2 separate regions of the Homo sapiens genome follow, and region 2 is linked to region 1. The links are contacts of gene promoters, found by promoter capture Hi-C in human tissues and cell types (Jung and others, 2019). All regions are on one chromosome and are shown on one strand. Each heading gives the region's core, a stretch centred on a gene start or on the middle of the fragment in contact. The rest is flanking DNA. Distances are from core to core; before and after follow the strand shown.

Region 1 (4,939 bases), core at 761-3,260:
GAAAGTACACTCCAGTGTGGGAGCGGGCCTGAGCTTAGAAGTTCAGTGGCTCCGTTACAGAATTTTGGGGAGTTTAAATAACCCCAGAGGATTCCATGGTTACTTCGGGTATGCCTTATGTAAATAGAGAAGATGAAGTAAAGTTACAAAGACATTTATGGCCTATGCCCTATGGACAGAATATTACCTGTTATAGCTGAAGTGTGAATTGGCCTTATGTTCCCTACCTCCAGACCCTATTTTCCTGCCTCAGGAGGATTACTTGAGCCTAGGAGTTCAAGTCCAGTCTGGACATCAATAGTGAGACCCCTGCCTCTGAAAAAAAATTTTTTTGAGACAGAGTTTTGCTCTTGTTGCCCAGGCTGGAGTGCAATGGGATGATCTCAGCTCACTGTAACTTCCACCTCCTGGATTCAAGCAATTCTCCTGCCTCAGCTTCCCTAGTAGCTGGGATTACAGGAGCCGGCCACCACGCCCGGATAATTTTTTGTATTTTTAGTAGAGACAGGGTTACACCATGTTGGCCAGGCTGGTCTTGAACTCCTGACCTCAGGTGATCTGCCCACCTCAGCCTCACAAAGTCCTGGGATTACAGGCGTGAGCCACCGAGCCCAGCAAATTTTTGTTTTTTAGACGGAGTCTCCCTCTATCGCCCAGGCTGGAGCACAGAAATGCGATCTCGGCTCACTGCAACCTCTGCCGCTTGGGTTCAAGTGATTCTCCTGACTCAGCCTCCCGAGTAGCTGCGATTACAGGCGGGCACCACCATGCCCGACTAATTTTTTGTATTTTTAGTAGAGACGGGGTTTCACCATGCTGGCCAAGCTGGAAAATTTTATTTTTAATAAATGAAAGGCAGAGTATTTATCTGAAAAAAGTGGGAGACCAACAGTCTCATGGGATTGTTATAAAGATTAAAAGAGAGAGTGTTACTGAAATACTTAGAAGAGCTGTTATTCTATTGCTGTCCTTTCCCCTTGTATTTGGATAGATTACCGTACTTGTTTCTTCTATGTAACTCTAATTGTCAGTGGGGTTCTCCCTCTCTTAGAGGCCTGGAGAAACTTGTCTTAAATGCTTTCCCAGTTAATGAATTGGGAGAGGCAGATTTTATGTCTAAATTACAAGGGCGAGACTTAAAAGTATGAATTGGGGCTAATGTCAGTGCTCAGGTGCAGGGATCCTCCGTTTTGTTCATCACACAGCTCCCGGCACTTTAATAAATGAGGCTCAAAGAAACGACGGGCTTAGGTCATGCAGTAGTCAAATTCAGAACTCATGTTTGATTCCAAAGCCCACACGTTTTCCTAGTTTAGAAACACTAAACATTTAATTCACCGCACCGGGGGCCAGACAGGTAATGGAGAACGCCTTAAGTATGTTAGGAAGGGAAGTTATCTACAGTCGCAGCCGCTATTCAGATCTATTTCACTGCCTTGCAGAAAACGCCGACTGTCGTCTCTTTATCCCATGGCCGATTTCTTGTGAAATCTCCTAACTTTTAAATATTTCCAATCAAAAGACTGCCGTTCAAATGCAGCCCACCAGGAGCATGTTTGCAAACTCTGGAGTAAACAAGAGTGGGAAGCTGATAAGGTGAGTACCTCAGTTCGATAGTGACAGCCAAGAAACGGGGAGTTTTGTACCTAAGGCGAGAAAGAAATTCTCCGCCGAAATCTCCCGGAAGAAGGACTGAATTAAATGCAGATTAGAGTCAGGGCAGGGTAAGGTGGCGGGAGAACTAGGCTGCCATCCCAGGTGGCTGGCCTACCAGCCAGCGCGGCCGGAGGTACAGACCATGTACAGACCACGGCGAGGGGTGTTAGGGGCTTCTCGGGATAAAGGCAGCGAGTGGCTGCGCATTCCCTCCCCGACTCTTTCAGAGGTAAGCCTTCTGTGGAGCAGACCCTAATCCTCCCCCTGATTCCTTAGGTCACTCGGCGATTTACTTCCTTCCCCCGCTTCCTCACAGTCCTCCACAGCCCTACGACTTCCGCTTGCCTCGTCGTCTGGGAAACCGCCGACTTCCGGCCGCGCAGCGGTGGGCTGAGCTAAAATGGCTGAGGAGAGAGTCGCGACGGTGAGCGCCGAGATTCTCTTTAGTTGCCCGGCCGCAGGGCAAGGCAAGCTGGCGGGTGGCTTTTGTCCCATGCAGCGGTTCCTGGAGAGAGGCGGAGCTGGGTGCCGAGCGTCTCAGGGTGGGCGGGGCGACACGGTCCCCTTTTTACTGTCCCGGGAACTGGTCGCCTGGGGCAAGTCTGGATACTTAGCAGCACAGGTCCTGTTCTAGGACTGTAGTCCCTCTTGGGGTGCGCTGGACGGAGAAGGGAGACTTTTCACCAGTAATGGCTCTTACCGTAGTGCCATCTTTTTCTGTCTCGGGGGTTTGGAAGGTAATGACTAGCACTTGTGTAGACAGTTCCTGTTAATCCCGTGAATTGGGAATTTAACATGCCTGGAAGCTTGCAGCGTCACTGCCTTCTGCCAGTGGAGCGGGACTGTGTTTTTTCTGTGGTGATTAAGTTTAGGAAAGTACGGTTTTGGAATTCATCTGAAGGCTGAGTTGGGCGTTCACTCCACAGAACTGCTAATATAGAGGAACCCGATGAATTCAGGATGACCTAGTCGCTATTTTTTGAGGCATATATCTATAATTGGATCTAATTTCGGTAAAGTGCCAAGTGTGAAGCTTTGTTTACCTTGCTTTAGTGTTGGGTTTGAAAGCCTGTTCTGTCCATTTGTTAGAATGATTTTAGGTATTCGGAATTTATTGTCTTTCGAAAAACGCCCTGGAAAACAGTACAAATAGCAGCCTTTGGCTGTTTTACAACTTAGTTTTGGCTAAGCAGCAAGGTTAGTGTTATTGTTAGAGGGCCTTTTGTTTGTTTTCTACTCTCATTTGCAGAGTAGTCATATTATTCTAGTCTAATTAGAAAACTCTGAAGACAGAAACTTTTTTTTTTGAGACGGAGTGTCGCTGTTGTCGGCCCGGGCTGGAGTGCAATGGCGCGATCTCGGCTCACTGCAACCTCCGCCTCCCAGGTTCCAGCAATTCTCCTGCCTCAGCCTCCGGATTAGCTGAGAATACAGGCGCCTGCCACCACGCCCGGCCGAAACATTTTTATTAAGCTAAGAAATTTAAAATAGCTAGGCCGGACGCGGTGCATCACGCCTGTAATCCCAGCACTTTGGGAGGCCGAGACGGGTGGATCACTTGAGGTCATGAGTTTGAGACCATCCTGGCCAACATGGTGAAACCCCGTCTCTACTAAAAATACAAAAATTAGCGGGGCATCGTGGCGCTCGCCTGTAATCCCAGGTACCTGGAAGGCTGAGGCAGGAGAATCGCTTGAACCCCGGAGGCGGAGGTTGCAGTGAGCCGAGATCATGCCATTGCACTCCAGCATGAGCGACAGAGACAGACTCCTTCTCAAAAAAAAAGAAAGAAAAAACAGATTTTAAAATAATTAAATAGGCCAGGCTCAGTGGCTCACGCCTGTAATCCTAGCACCTTGGGAGGCTGAGGTGGGTGGATCGCCTGAGGTCAGGAGTTCGAGACCAGCCTGGCCAACGTAGTGAAACCCTGTCCCTACTAAAAAAATACAAAAAATTAGCTGGACGTGGTGGCGGGCGCTGGTAATCCCAGCTACTAGGGAGGCTGAGGCAGGAGAATCGCTTAGAACCCAGGAGGCAGAGGTTGCAGTGAGCCGAGATCGTGCCATTTCACTGCAGCCTGGGCATCCAGAGCAAAACTCCGTCTCAGAAAAAAAAAAAAAGTAAATAGCATGGTTAATGTTACTGGGTTTTAAATATTAAAAACATAGGAAAGAAAATACTTCCACTCCAGCCTGGGTGACAGAGCAAGACTCCGTCTCAAAAAAAAAAAAAAAAAAAAAAAGAAAATACTTCTAAGTAATCTTAAAGTGTAAAAGATAATGGGTAACATAACATTGCTACAAATATAGCTTATCCTCTAGTGCTCATCACAAGTGTTTGTGTAATAGAATATGAACTTGAGTCTGTGACGGCAGAATTGTCATGTACATTTGAATGTCTAATACTGTTTTAAAGAGAATAGCTTTTGTTTCGATATGACTTAGCAATTAAGCCTGAAGTTAACTGTTTTCATTGTTGTCAAATTTATTGCTAGTAGTGTTACGTTTATAGTAATTTTCATCTTTTCAAGTTACCAATGCATGGAAATGTGAATTTCTGTCCTTTTAGGAAGTGGTATTTTATCTTTTTTTTTTTTTTTTTTTTGAGACGGAGTCTCACTTTGTCGCCCTGTCTGGAGTGCAGTGGCGTGATCTCAGCTCAGTGGAACCTCTGCCTCCCGGGTTCAAGTGATTTTTCTGCCTCAGCCTCCCGAGTAGCTGGGGTTACAGGCCCTCACCACCATGCCTGGCTTATTTTTGTGGAGATGGGGTTTCACCACGTTGGCCAGGCTGGTCTTGAACTCCTGACCTTGTGATCTGCACGCCTCGGTCTCCCAAAGTGTTGGGATTACAGGCGTGAGCCATGGCCCCCTGCCTTATTTTTTAATACAATTAAAAGAACCCAGTAATCCTACTCCTAGACCTGTGTCCCACAGAAAAAAGTGTTAAACATGAGCGTGTAGTACTAGGGCATTCGTTGTAGTACTATCCGTAGTGGCAAAACGCTGGAAGCAAATTAAATGCCCATTAATAGGGTAATTGATGACTTCAGATATTTCCATACTGTGGAATATTATGCAGTCATTAAAAAGAATGTTACAACTAATTGCTTTTCCTCTCAGAAGCCCCTCTCTCTCACTAGAGAAAGCTGTTCTCCTTTCTTTCTTCTGCCTATTAAACCTCCATTCCTAAACTCAGAAAGAAAAAAAAAAAAAGAGAATGTTACGACTAATTGACTTGGAGGGACTTCCATGGTGTACATTTAAATAAAAGGTAGATGTGAA
Region 2 (5,252 bases), core at 1,409-3,908, 290 kb before region 1:
CCACAACCTCGCCACAGTCTGTTATTTTTTTGACTTTTTATAGTAGCCATTCTGACTGGTGTGAGATGGTATCTCATTGTGGTTTTAATTTCTCTAATGATCTGCCCCTCTTTCCACGGTCTCCCTCTCCCTCTCCCTCTCTTTCCACGGTCTCCCTCTCCCTCTCCCTCTCCCCTCTTTCCACGGTCTCCCTCTCCCTCTCCCCTCTTTCCACGGTCTCCCTCTCCCTCTCTTTCCACAGTCTCCCTCTCATGCCGAGCCGAAGCTGGACTGTGCTGCTGCCATCTCGGCTCACTGCAACCTCCCTGCCTGATTCTCCTGCCTCAGCCTGCCGAGTGCCTGCAATTGCAGGCGCGCGCCGCCACGCCTGACTGGTTTTCGTATTTTTTTGGTGGAGACGGGGTTTCGCTGTGATGGCCGGGCTGGTCTCCAGCTCCTGACCGCGAGTGATCCGCCAGCCTCGGCCTCCCGAGGTGCCGGGATTGCAGACGGAGTCTCGTTAACTCAGTGCTCAATGGTGCCCAGGCTGGAGTGCAGTGGCGTGATCTCGGCTCGCTACAACCTCCACCTCCCAGCCGCCTGCCTTGGCCTCCCAAAGTGCCGAGATTGCAGCCTCTGCCCGGCCGCCACCCCGTCTGGGAAGTGAGGAGCGTCTCTGCCTGGCCGCCCATCGTCCGGGATGTGAGGAGCCCCTCTGCCTGGCTGCCCAGTCTGGAAAGTGAGGAGTGTCTCTGCCCGGCCGCCATCACACCTAGGAAGTGAGGAGCGCCTCTTCCCGGCCGCTATCCCATCTAGGAAGTGAGGAGCGTCTCTGCCCGGCCGCCCATCGTCTGAGATGTGGGGAGCGCCTCTGCCCTGCTGCCCCGTCTGGGATGTGAGGAGCGCCTCGGCCTGGCCGCGACCCTGTCTGGGAGGTGAGGAGCGTCTCTGCCCAGCTGCCCTGTCTGAGAAGTGAGGAGACCCCCCGCCTGGCAACCGCCCCGTCTGAGAAGTGAGGAGCCCCTCCGCCCTGCTGCCACCCCGTCTGGGAAGTGAGGAGCGTCTCCGCCCAGCAGCCACCCTGTCCGGGAGGGAGGTGGGGGTCAGCCCCCGCCAGGCCAGCCGCCCCGTCCGGGAGGGAGGTGGGGGGTCAGCCCCCCACCCGGCCAGCCGCCCCGTCCGGGAGGTGAGGGGCACCTCTGCCCGGCCGCCCCTACTGGGAAGTGAGGAGCCCTTCTGCCCGGCCAGCAGCCCCGTCCGGGAGGGAGGTGGGGGGTCAGCCCCCTGCCCGGCCAGCCGCCCCGTCCGGGAGGTGAGGGGCGCCTCTGCCCGGCCGCCCCTACTGGGAAGTGAGGAGCCCCTCTGTCCGGCCAGCCGCCCCGTCCGGGAGGGAGGTGGGGGGTCAGCCCCCCGCCCGGCCAGCCGCCCCGTCCGGGAGGTGAGGGGCGCCTCTGCCTGGCCGCCCCTACTGGGAAGTGAGGAGCCCCTCTGCCCGGCCACCACCCCGTCTGGGAGGTGTACCCAACAGCTCATTGAGAACGGGCCATGATGACAATGGCGGTTTTGTGGAATAGAAAAGGGGGAAAGGTGAGAAAAAGAATGAGAAATCGGATGGTTGCTGTGTCTGTGTAGAAAGAAGTAGACATGGGAGACTTTTCATTTTGTTCTGTACTAAGAAAAATTCTTCTGCCTTGGGATCCTGTTGATCTATGACCTTACCCCCAACCCTGTGCTCTCTGAAACATGTGCTGTGTCCACTCAGGGTTAAATGGATTAAGGGCGGTGCAAGATGTGCTTTGTTAAACAGACGCTTGAAGGCAGCATGTTCGTTAAGAGTCATCACCACTCCCTAATCTCAAGTACCCAGGGACACAAACACTCTGCCTAGGAAAACCAGAGACCTTTGTTCACTTGTTTATCTGCTGACCTTCCCTCCACTATTGTCCTATGACCCTGCCAAATCCCCCTCTGCGAGAAACACCCAAGAATGATCAATAAAAAAATAAAAAAATTAAAAAAAAAATACAAAGATTAATTTCTCTAATGATCTGAACATAGAAACCAGCAAAGATTTCATGATGAAGATGCAAAAAGCAATTGCAACAAAAGCAAAAATTGACAAATGGGATCTAATTAAACTAAAGAGCTTCTGCATAGCAAAAGAAACTATCAATAGCGTACACAGAAAACCTACAGAAAGGGAAAATTTTTTTGCAAACTATGCATCTGACAAAGGTCTAATATCCAGCATCTGTAAGGAACTCAAATAAATTTACAAGAAAAAGACAAATAACCCCATTAAAAAGTGGGCAAAGGGCATGAACACTTTTCAAAAGAAGAAACACATGTGGCCAACAAGCATATGAGTTCCCCTTTTTTTATTTGCTATGAGGGAACTGTGTCTTATTTATTTTTGTGTCCCAGAAGCTAGCACAAAGCCTGACACACAGCCACTGCTAACAAAATGTTTGTGGATTTATTTAATAAAAGAGTTGGGAGTAGGTGGAGAATGGAGGGTGGGGAGCATCACACATACATGCACATGCTTAAAATGTGGTGATTTCTTCCTGATCTGACCAGATCAAAAATATAAAACAGAAACAGGATCTATGCCATGGGTCCTGGCCCTTTTTGCTTCTGCCAGCATGTGTGAGGAGATGCAGAGACAAATTCCGTGGCAGTTAGAGAACTAACTGCCAAGATGGAGCGAAGGGAACATTTAACCTTGACTTTCCACAGTCCTGAGGTTCCCAAAATAAAGGGGAACCGGAAATACCAAAGGGTGAGGAGGTATCTAATTGAAAGTCAGATGGGAAGAAGAGAACTTACTTAAAGGCAGGGCTACACAGAGCATCCTAAAGACAGAAAAGATCACCCTGAAAATTGTGGGGTTTTTTTTTTTTAGGAGTAGGGAAAAATATCTATAAATCAAACACACATGGGAATGCTTGAGGTAGAGAAGAGCGGGTGACCCTGGGGATCAGGGGTTATTCTTTCGGGTAGGCAATATTTCCCTCATCCTTGTAGCCTACCGTCCCTGCCAAGAAACATCCAAGTGCCTCGATGTCATGCCAAAGGCAGCAGCAGCTTATGGATCAGGCACACATCTACATCCGAACGCTCTGTGGCAGCCTCTGTAGTTTTAGCCTCCTAATGCTGATCGCCATGTCCCCACTGAACTGGGTACAGTTTCTGGTGATCAAGAATGGCCTTGAGCTCTACGCAGGACTCTGGACCTTATGCAACCATGAGCTGTGCTGGAGCCACACACCCAAGCCACCCTGTGAGTGCCACCGAATTAAATGCCACAGGCCCCACACAATTGCAGAGCTTTCTGCTCACACAAATTGGCCCTTCATGTTTCTTCCTCCAAGATCTTTTGGCCTTCACCTCTCCAAGTGCAGGATGGATCTTTCTTTGGTATCCTCAGTGTGCCCTTTCTCTCTCCTATTCCAGGTTGTTTCCTGTCCTAAATAATGGGTTATACTCTCTTTATGGGAAGAACTGTTTTTGTTTGTTGGTTGGTTTTTCGAGACAGGCTCTTGCTCTAACGCCTAGCCGAAGTGCAAAAGCACTATCATTGCTCACTGCAGCCTCCACCTCCAGGACTCAAGCAATCTTCCTGTTCAACCTCCTGAGTAGGTGGAACTACAGATGTGTGCCAACACTCCTGGCTAATTTTTAATTTTTTTAAATTTTTTTTTCTTTTGTAGAGACAAGTTCTCATTATATTTCCCAGGCTGGTCTCAAAGTCCTGGCCTCAAGTGATCCTCCCAAAGTACCAGGACTATAGGTGTAAGCCACCATGCCTGCCCTAGGAATAACTCATTTACAAGGTGTTACTGCTAAGCAATGTGATTGGTATTCTAATGTGGCTTGCAGAATTAGAAGAGAAGTGATTGATCATAGCTGGAAGATAAAGCAAATATCTTAACCTCTATTAGATTTAACTTTCAAGGTCAGCTTGTTCTTCTCCTAGCAGTGGAATAGAACTTAAATGTACGTTAGATATGTGGTATAACAAATGCCAGCTATGAAGATAATGTTATTTATGTCAAATTTTATGTGAATTTAAATAAATCTGAAAGTGCAACACAAAATATTTTAAAATAAGTTTTTGGGGCTAAAAATAACATATGCATGAATTTTTCAATCAAACCAAAAACTTAGAGGAAAGATATCATTACACTGACAGTTTTCCCATAACCCGCAAGATATACATTTACACAAAGAAGTGGGTATTGTGAAAGAAAACATATGTGAGTAAAGCATCTATTCTCATCACATAAGCAGGGGTCCCATCTATTCTCCTCACATAAGCAGGAGGGGAGCACCTGTGCCCAACTCTGAGGTACAGCATCAGTTGTTTGGCCATGGGCTGTGACATTTGATATTAAGGGACAGTATCCTGCATGATCTTGAGAAGAAACTAAAATCAAAGGCAGACAGACAATTCAACTGCATAAAACGAAAACTAGAGAAAATATTTGCAACAATTATGAAAGATAAAGGTTAATGGCCTTAATATAGTAAAAGGATACACAAAGTATTACAAAGACACAAACTCAAATAAATAAGTTCTTTTTGAACAGACATGCACAAAAGAAGAACTATAACTATCTAATAAACATAGGAAAAATAATTTAACCTCAATCATTAAAGAAAGGTAAATCAAATGAATAACAAGATGTAACTTTTCAACCACCATATTAACAGATTTTTAAATGATAATGCAACTGCTATCACTCCCATACGCATTCCTGTACATGCCATGCAAATTGGTATAACTAAAGCAATATGATTAGGTGTATCCAGAGACTTAAAAATGTTCATCTCCTTTGAGTAAATAATTCCATTTCTAGAAATTAATTCCAAGGAAATAACTAGAAATGGATTAAAAGGTTTAGGCAAAAAGATTAAGCTGCAATCATATTTATGTAACTGGGTGCCCAGGCTAAAATTTCATCCTTAAGATTATTATTTAAATTTTTAATAAATTAGGGCTGGGTGTGGTGACTCACGCCTGTAATCCCAGTGTTACCAGAAAGGGGTCCTGATCCAGACCCCAGGAGAGGGTTCTTGGATCTTGGGCAAGAAAGAATTCAAGATGAGTCCATAGAGTAAAGTGAAAGCAAATTTAAGAAAGTAAAGGAATAAAAGAATGGCTACTCCATAGGAAGAGGAGCCCCGAGGGCTGCTGTTTGCCCATTTTAATGGCTATTTCTTTATTATATGCTAAACAAGGGGTGAATTATATTCATAAGTTTTTGGGG

The links. Contacts are between HindIII fragments. The study calls those that stand out against the background at their distance.
Region 2: a contact is called between the fragment with the promoter of TMEM202 here and the fragment with the promoter of HIGD2B in region 1, in 1 of the 25 tissues and cell types used here (IMR-90 fibroblasts).

The regions. Positions count from the first base shown.
Region 1 is chr15:72,684,172-72,689,110 of GRCh38, forward strand. HIGD2B (HIG1 hypoxia inducible domain family member 2B) reads right to left here and starts at 2,011. Exons shown (of 3, transcript NM_001350932.3): 1 at 1,647-2,011. It overlaps BBS4 (Bardet-Biedl syndrome 4), which reads left to right and starts at 2,036. Exons shown (of 16, transcript NM_033028.5): 1 at 2,036-2,080. The coding sequence starts at 2,057. The HindIII fragment of the contact is 21,731 bases long and covers 1-4,939 here.
Region 2 is chr15:72,395,647-72,400,898 of GRCh38, forward strand. It overlaps TMEM202 (transmembrane protein 202), which reads left to right and starts at 2,659. Exons shown (of 5, transcript NM_001080462.3): 1 at 2,659-2,761; 2 at 3,007-3,262. The coding sequence starts at 2,681. The HindIII fragment of the contact is 13,856 bases long and covers 1-5,252 here.